Regions from separate parts of the Homo sapiens genome. Here region 1 is linked to region 2. Evidence: promoter capture Hi-C in 16 types of primary human blood cells and fetal thymus (Javierre and others, 2016). All regions are on one chromosome and are shown on one strand. Each heading gives the region's core, a stretch centred on a gene start or on the middle of the fragment in contact. The rest is flanking DNA. Distances are from core to core; before and after follow the strand shown.

Region 1 (4,487 bases), core at 1,012-3,511, about 13 Mb before region 2:
TGGAGCAGAAACAAGTCAGAGCGCCTGAAGAGAGCGCTCTCACGGCCTCAGTCCTGGACGCAGGCGCGGAAAGTCCATTAAGTCCCACCCAATCGGGGTATTTCCCACCCCCTAAGCCCGTGCACCGGAAACCATGGGGGCGGAAGAGGTGCTGGGCAGGAGGCGGAAGAGGTGCTGTGCAGGAGGCGGGCGGGCGCGGTTCTTTCCGGAAGGATTGAATCTCCTTTAGCCCCGCCCGCCTCCGTAGCTGCCTGAAGTAGTGCAGGGTCAGCCCGCAAGTTGCAGGTCATGGCGCTGGCTGCTCGACTGTGGCGCCTTCTGCCTTTCCGACGTGGAGCCGCCCCGGGGTCTCGTCTCCCTGCGGGGACTTCGGGCAGCCGCGGGCATTGCGGCCCCTGTCGATTCCGCGGCTTCGAGGTACCCCCGTGGTCCTGGCTCCCGCTCCTCACTTCCTACTCAGTGGGTTCCGGCTCCCCCTTAACTTAAGTGGTGGCGGCCCCGCGCTGCCTAAGGAATGTGGTGAACCGAGGAAAGAACTCGGGGCCACTGTGCCTGGAACGCCCGGACAGGTCCCTTCCATTTTGCAAACCTCCACTATCCTTAACTGGGGCTGTCAGAGAAGGAGTGGGGTTTGCCCCCACGCGCCCCAGAAGCTGCCTGCTACCCGCCCTTCTTGTGCGAAATGTAAAACAGGACGGGAAAGAACCTTGACCGCTGTGAAATTATTCTCCCTGTAGGCGATGACAGATACAACAGCGCTTGAGGCTGCCCCTTTCAGACTTTGAAAAGTGTGGTGTGTGATTTAAAAAGTTCTACGACTCAGAAGCAGAGATTTCATACTGTTTAGGTTTTTGTTTAAAAATGTTTATTTCTCAGTTGCCCGTTGTATCTGCATAACGTCAATGAAGGTTGTCGGCATGTTGTAGTCTCAGTTCTGGTATTTCTATTAGACTGCTCGTGGGCCTCTGTTTATTCTTGTCAGGGAATTGGAATGGCATTAATGCATATGATATATTTCACATGAACTAGGGGTTTCATTATTTTAAACTCAAATTTTTAACTGCTCAGTTAAAATCTTTCAGAATTATTATGGGACTGATGGTGGGGAGGGGTGGTTAAAATTTGGCATATTCCCCTTCCTTGGAAGTTTATAACCAAATGGGGAGGTTATAGATAATATAGGCAGAGAGATGGGAGGAGTTCTAAGTATGAAACTAGTTAGCCGTAAGTTTTCAAATTGGAACAATGATGAGTTTGAAGTCCCATTTTAGGCCTGGCCCCTTGGCTCAGCCTGTAATCCCAGCACTTTGGGAAGCCGAGGCGGAAGGATTGCTTGAGTCCAGGGGTTTGAAACCAGCCTGGGCAACACAGTGAGACCCTGTCTCTACAAAAAAATTTAAAAGTTAGCCATGTACATTTTTATATGTAGTAATTACTATATATGATAATCTTGTCTGTAAGATTCATTTTTATTATGTGTTGGTGTCTCATATTTTACTTCATACAATTTGCAATATCCATGCATTTGCAAATAAGTTGTAGCAAATAAGTTGTAGCTCTTCCTTTCCAGCAGGAGTGTGATTTTTAGATGAGCGGCGACTCCAGGGGATATCTTTTTCTCAATAAGATACGCTTTGAGATAGTTTTACTAAAGATTTTGATGAAGTAATTTTTAAGCTTCCAGTATTATGATCGATTGCTTTGGGGGTGGGAGAAAATTCATGTAATTTTTGCTTGGGGTAGCAGTACCTTCAAATTTTCAAAGTTTGTAACTCTTAACATAATTGTTTCCATAGGTAATGGGAAACCCAGGAACTTTCAAAAGAGGCCTTTTACTCTCAGCTTTGTCGTATTTGGGTTTTGAAACTTACCAGGTTATCTCTCAGGCTGCTGTGGTTCATGCCACAGCCAAAGGTAAGCATAAATTAGATATATGGAACATTTAGAGTTTTTTTGTGTGCGTACATTCAGAATTTTTATTTTAAAACAAAGAATCAGGGTAATGTTAATAATAGAAAATCCATATGGAAATATTCACAATCTGCTCAGTGAGAAATGGGAAAACAACTTCCCTGCCTAACTGCCAACCTACTGTTTGAGGAGCCAGAAGTTGACGTGAAGTTGGAAGAAGGTCACCTTTTCCAGCTAAACCCCACTCCATAGCTATGTGCATTTTTATTTGAAGTCTCCGTGACCAGAGGAAACAGTGAGAACTGAGAACCAAGATACCGTTATCAGCAAGGGTTTGGCTAAAGGGTCTGAGATGTGTAAGCACCAAGAAGGGGAAGGGAAATTGAGCAACATATGAAAAAGGGGCTGTAGGAACACAGAAAAAATAAGTCAACAATAACCTATTTCCATCCAGAGCAAAGGGACAGTGCACACATATTCATCCTCTCAAGTGTGGGCTACACTGTACATTGACTCATACTATCTCGAACATGGTCTGTTGGAAAGATTGAGACCCCCTAAGGGCACTTGGCATAGGACCACAGTGACATGGTAACAGACATAGACAAGCATGGCATGACCCTAAAGGCAACAACACACCTTTAGATAATAATCGTTCAGAAAAAAATCCCAGAGCTGAGGTTATAAATTCCAAGTTAGCTATAAACATTCTTTGGGGAATTCCTTTAAAGATATGAGTTAAAATAAAACAAAATCAACACCTAAAATCTCCTAAAGCACAAAATGGAGAAATAATGAATCTCTACCAAGAACTGATTATTTTAAGTTTCTCATTTGGATGGCTCTCCCACCAGATAGGTGGTGGGATTACTTCAAAAGTAATGAGTCTCCTACAAGGAGGAGTTGTTTGGTCCAGTGAGGGGGAACAAGCTTTCTAGAAATAACTTTCCCTTCCCTTGACTCCATTCAAAATTAGAACCCATCAACCACCATTAACTACAATGCCCATATTAGTTAATAATCCTAGATTTCAAGTACTACTACATGTAAACTATTAAAAGAAAAAAGTTCCAAAGGAAATCAATAACTTTATTATGTAGGCATATGACTTTTATGGGAAATTAAGAGTTTCCATCTGAAGGACAGAAATTGTCAAGAGGTAATGTGCAGACTTCAGGCACCACATAATATACCCTCCAATAATGAACTACATTTCTCCCTAAATTCTTCATATTGCACGCTAACCTCCCCAGCATGAAATCTTCTACTGTATAACCTCTCTTTAAACACCTCCCTCCAATCTCAATTTCCTTCTGTTTTTATTATTTGGCAAAATTACACTTAAAAAAATAAACATTTCCATCATGGGACATGTATACCTATGTAACAAACCTGCGCATTCTGCACCTGTATCCCAGAACTTAAAAAATTATGTAATTAAACCAGAGGGTAAAATAAATAAAACTCAAGTTAATTTGCCTTGTAGAGCTATATGGAAGTGAGGAAGGTGCTCTTACATAAACCCCGTCTGCCTTCCACACTCATATGTATATCTTCTTCCTGATAAGTCTGAGGTTGGGGGAACTGCGCCTTACTTTTCCTCTCCTATATCCCCTAGTGCGGCAATATTAGAACCCAAGGAAGGAAAAACTGGCAAAGTTGTCATATGCCAAGTGGCCATTGCCTCCTGAAATGAAGGTAGGTTCACTTGGTCTCTCCTAAGCAGAAGAGAATGTCCAGGAAATAAAATATTTAAAAAACCATTGAAAATCCAACAAACCCCAGCCTTGAGGTGCGCATGGAGTGCGTGGGATAAGAAAGGAATCAAGTAGCAGCATTCAGAAGCAGTCCTGGGTTCATCCTGATGAGGTCTCTCATTCAGGGAGAGGTGGCTTTCCCATGCTGGGAGGGAGGTGGAAGGAGGCATGACTTAGACATTGGTGGTGGTCTCCTTAGCAGCCTGGATGCTGTTCATCTCCATGATGCCATCCTTCCCAGATCTATCTGCACCATGTGCCTGCCTTTTAAAGGCCCATGTGATATCCTCAAAAGCCCTGCCATGGGTCTCAGGGACTTTGAAGAAGGTAAAGGTCAAGAAGGTGATGAGGAAGCTGGCGAAGATAATAAAAATACAGGCTCCTAAATAATAAGCAGCAGAGGGGAAGAGCAGTCCGACTAAGAAGTTGGAGGTATAGTTGGAGCAGCCGGCCATTGCAGTCGCAGCTGGGCGGGGGCCCTGGCTGAAGAGTTCGGCCACAATAAACCAGGAAATGGGACCTGGTCCAATTTCAAAGGCCACAAAGACCAAGATAGCCCCGATAAAGACAAAGCTCATCCCATTATACTCATCCTTTAATAACAAACAGTCATGAGCATGGAACAAAAAGCCATCCCTCCAAGGCCTATCATATGCAGGGTCCGCCTTCCTGCCCTTTGCAGCAGAAATAGGGAAACTACAGTGAAGATAGTATTAAACACACGTGCACCAATGGTGGCATAGATGGGCTCTTGAACACCTGCATCCTTGAAGATTCCTGTTGAGTAATAGAACACAACATTGATTCCAGAGAGCTGTC
Region 2 (4,428 bases), core at 686-3,185:
GGGCAACAGAGCACGACTCCGTCTCAAAAAAATAAAATAAAATTGTAATGAAAAGAACTTGTCACATGAGGTGACATAAGGAATTCTCCCAAATAATCTACAGAGTTAAAGAAATAAATTGGCTGACAGAATGGCTTGCCTTAATTCTAGTCACAAGTAGAAAACTGCAGAGCTGGAGTTTGTTAGCTTAGCATCCCAGCTCTCAGGTTTCTAGGTCTAGTGTGACCTTGAACAAGTAAAAATAGTAACAGTTTCTTCTACTCCACTGTTAATGACGACATCATTTCCATTCTATTTAAATGCAACACCTTTTCAAAAAATAAATACATTTAGCTGGTGTAATGGAACACGTCTATAGCCCCAGCTACTGGGGAGGCTGAGGTGGATCACTTGAGCCCAGGAGTTTAAGGCCAGCCTGGGCAACATGGCAAGACCCCATCTCTAAGAAATAAAATTTAATTTTACTAAAATAATTTAAGTAAAATACTCCGCAAACTCACATTATATTTAAAGTCCAGGCCTTTTACAAATACTGCTAAAATATTTATATGATAGTATTAAAGAGATCAAATCTTTCTCTAAAGACCTTGTAAATACCGTGTATCCCCTGGTCCTCTTATTTCTTGACAAGAAATAAAATTTGGCTGGGCACAGCGGCTCACGCCTGTAATCCCAACCCTTTGACAGGCCGAGGCAGGAGGATGATTTGAGGTCAGGAGTTTAAGACGAGCCTGGCCAACACGGTGAAACCCCGTCTCTACTAAAAATACAAAAAAAAAATCAGCCGGGGTGTGGTGGAGCGCGCCTGTAATCCCAACTACTGGGGAGGCTGAGGCAGGAGAATCGCTTGAACCCGGAAGGCGGAGGTTGCAGTGAGCCAAGATCACGTCACTGCACTCCAACCAGGGTGACAGAGCGAGACTTCACCTCCAAAAAAAAAGAAATAAAATTTACTTGAAATCCTACATCAAATTTCAAGGGAACAGAAGCGTTCCCCATACATCTGAAAATGAGTTTCACAGTGTATACACTTCAAAATGTAAAAGGCATGCCTAATTCCTCAATGCTGAAATGTAATTAGATTCCAATTTCCATTTTAAGCATTTCTTCCAAGTTTTAACCAGGTTTGCCAATCCTGATATTTTACAGAGTAGAATTAGAAGACAATTTATTCAGATCAAAATAAAAGAATTAACATCTGCATCCCCCTTTTCCCAGGGACCAAAGTAATTCTTAAAAGTACAGCCACCTCATAAAAGTAGAACAAGCTCAAAGTCAGGTTAACCTGGCTCTTTCGGTTCTATTTCCAGGTGCTGCATCCAATTTTTTGCAAATTAACACTTCTAAGCTTCTACTCAAGGGCAGAAAAGGAACTACATATAGTTGTCACCACAAACCCTCTGGATTTGGAACTACCATAAAAGTAAGCACTTTCCAGCCGTTCTCCTGGACTCGCGGAGGCTGAGGACCCCGGGGCCCTCGGCCTGCTACTTCTGCAAGCCCCGCAGAGGGGGCTCCTCCCGCGCTCCAGCCACGGACACCTGGGAGAGGTCGCGAAGAGCCGCTGGGGCTCCCCAGGCCCGACACGACGCCCGCCCTCCCCGCCTCACTTGGGACACCAGACCTCGGACGCCCTACCTGCGCTCGACCCGGACGCCGGAGAAGGCGCGCGGCTCCCGAAGGCCCCGTACTCCAGCCGGCTACCGGCCCCGAAGGCCCGCTGCTGGAGGACGCCCGGGAGACAGAGGCCCGGGGACCTCGGAGCGCGGCGGCCGCACACAATGCAGTCCTCCTTCCGCAGAGAGGCAGTTCGACCGCCCACGGGCTGCCCAACGCCAGAAACAGCATCACGCGGGTGACGAGCGGCTGCGGACGCCCCAGCTGCACGAGTCCACGACTGCGAGACACGGCTTCCCACCCGACTGCCGCACAAGTGGCGCATGCCCAGCCCGGGACGCCTGACTGGCAGCTGGGCTGCCTGCGCGTGCGCAGAATCTGCCGCCCGCCTGCCGCCCGCCTGCCGCCCGCCTGCCGCCCGCCTGCCGCCCGCCTGCCGCCCGCCTGCCGCCCGCCTGCCGCCTTCCCGGCCGCGCGCGTTATCCGCCAGCTGAGCTGGGAGCCCGCCGCTCTGTCCTTGGCTCAGCGGCTCCTCCTTCCTAGAATTTTACCTTCTTTATAACAGTGTGGAGGGGCAGAGGGCTGTACGAGAATGACAATGCCCAGAAGCCAGGGTTAAATATTTTTTTTTCTCGTGGACGACATCACTAAAAACTGTTTCCTTTGCGGAAAATGATTCTAGCCTGTTGGCACAGAAGAAAGAATATACGATTTGAACAAAAATGAGTGATAACTTAATTGAATCATCGGGTTGGAGGAAAATAAATGGAATTGTTCATGTAATATTGATAGGTGTTACCAGATTTGTCTTCGGAAATCATTCACATCCATATACACATTGATTCATTACTTGTTAAAGAGGTACTGAATCTATTGCCAGGACTGAGCTAGGAGCAGAGGATACAAAATACTAGATTAAACTGGGAATCCACAGTGCTTAAACAGTGGAGGAAAATACCTGAAAATTGGCTAGAATATAATGTAATACAATTGAGACACCGCAATATACAAAATGTGGCTGGCCGTGGTGGCTTACACCTGTAATCCCAGCGCTTTGGGAGGTTTAGGCAGGAAGATCTCTTGAGGCCAGGAGTTTGAGACCAGCCTGAGCAATACAGGGAGACCCCGTCTCTACAAAAAAAAAAAAAAAAAAAAAACCTAAAACAAAAATAAGCCACACATGGTAAGTGTGTGCCTGTGGTCCCAGCTACCCAGGAGGCTGACATGGTAGGATTGCTTGAGCCCAAAGTCGAGGCTTCAGTGAGCCAAGACCACACTACTGCACTCCAGCCTGGACCACAAAGTGACACCGTGTCTCAAAAAAAAGAACAAACAAATGCCACAGAAGTACAAAGAAGAACATGATTAATTTTGCCTCAGAATGTCTTCAGACTGGCTTCACATTTAGCTCAGTCTTGAAGGATGAGCATCTTAGTAATAGAAACACACTTTTGTTTACCACTGCAGAACTATACATGTTTTTGATTTGACATGTTATTTGCACCGGAGAGGAACAAATTCATAGTCTAAAATAATGTGTGGCCAGGGGCGGGAGCTCACGCCTGCAATTCCAATACTACGTGGAGGCCCAGGTGAGAGGATCACTTGATTCCAGGAGTTTGAGACCAGCCTGGGCAACAAAGTGAGACCCTGTCTCTACAAAAAATTTTTAAATTAGCTGGGCATGGTGGCACCTGCCTGTAGTCCCAGCTACTTGGGAGGCTGAGGTGGAAGGATCACTTGAGCCCAAGAGGTTGAGGCTGCAGTGAGCCCTGATTGCACCACTGCACTGAGTGACACAGCTAGACCCTGTCTCAAAAATAAAAATAAAAATAAATCAATAGAATATGATCATGTTGGCAACTCCAAATACTGTCTATTGGGGGGAGTATTCAGAAGGAGATAATGATAATACCTCTATATGGATAACTTTATTTTATAAAAAGTTAGCTTCTACTTACATTTTGTTTATTTTTATTTTAATATTTGTTTTAATAGTAGAGATGGAGTTTCACCATATAGCCCAGGTTGGTCTCAAACTCCTGAGGCTCAAGCTATCCGCCCACCTCAGCCTCCCAAAGTGCTGGAATTACAAGGGTGAGCCACTGTGCCCACCTTTTATTTTGTTTTTGAGACAGGGTCTTGCTCTGTCGCCCAGGCTGGAGTGCAGTGGCACCATCATAGCTCACTGCAGCCTTGACCTCCCAGGCTCAAGTGTTCCTCTCACTTCAGCCTCCCAAGTACCTGGGACTACAGGCCACGTCACCATGCCCAGCTAATTTTTGTATTTTTAGTGGATACAGGGTTTCCTTTTGTTGCCCAGGCTGGTCTTGAGCTCCTGGAATCAAGGGATCCTCCCGCCTGGGCCTCCCAAAGTGTCACAGAACCTGAGCTACCACACCTGGCCTATTTACATTTTAAAAACTCTTCTGTTTAGGGTAATTCACTCACAATCAATATTCACTCTATTATTTTGCTGATATATTTAAAATTTTCACATAAAAATGTTTTTCTTAACTATATTAAGAGAACTCAAATTTTTTATCTTCTGTAAAGCTGTTCCCCCTACAAATACTGTAAGTAAATGAAAATAAAAACTTTTGTTTGATCTATTTCTCAAAATTTCTAAATAGATAAAATCAGATTATAGTCTGAAAACTCTGTACCATAGATTTACATAGAATTGTTATTTATGTTAGATGGATTTTCCAGTTCCAGTAAGTTAGAGACATTTGTTAAATATAAACTAATGGGATTTTAGAATGATTTTAAGGATGTTTTTAGGCCGCGCGCAGTGGCTCACGGCTGTAA

The links. Contacts are between HindIII fragments. The CHiCAGO score rates a contact against its expected background, and 5 or more counts as called.
Region 1: a fragment that was not itself captured here is called in contact with the fragment with the promoter of TMEM70 in region 2 in 1 of 17 cell types (non-activated CD4 T cells); the score reaches 6.6 in non-activated CD4 T cells.

What each region holds. Positions count from the first base shown.
Region 1 is chr8:86,504,422-86,508,908 of GRCh38, reverse strand. RMDN1 (regulator of microtubule dynamics 1) reads left to right here and starts at 223. Exons shown (of 10, transcript NM_016033.3): 1 at 223-417; 2 at 1,797-1,914. The coding sequence starts at 289. It also overlaps the pseudogene SLC2A3P4. RefSeq lists an enhancer at 309-478. The HindIII fragment of the contact is 1,164 bases long and covers 1,680-2,843 here.
Region 2 is chr8:73,973,702-73,978,129 of GRCh38, reverse strand. TMEM70 (transmembrane protein 70) reads right to left here and starts at 1,935. Exons shown (of 3, transcript NM_017866.6): 1 at 1,639-1,935. The coding sequence starts at 1,848. RefSeq lists silencers at 1,587-1,636, 1,802-2,017, 2,067-2,146. The HindIII fragment of the contact is 7,182 bases long and covers 1,351-4,428 here.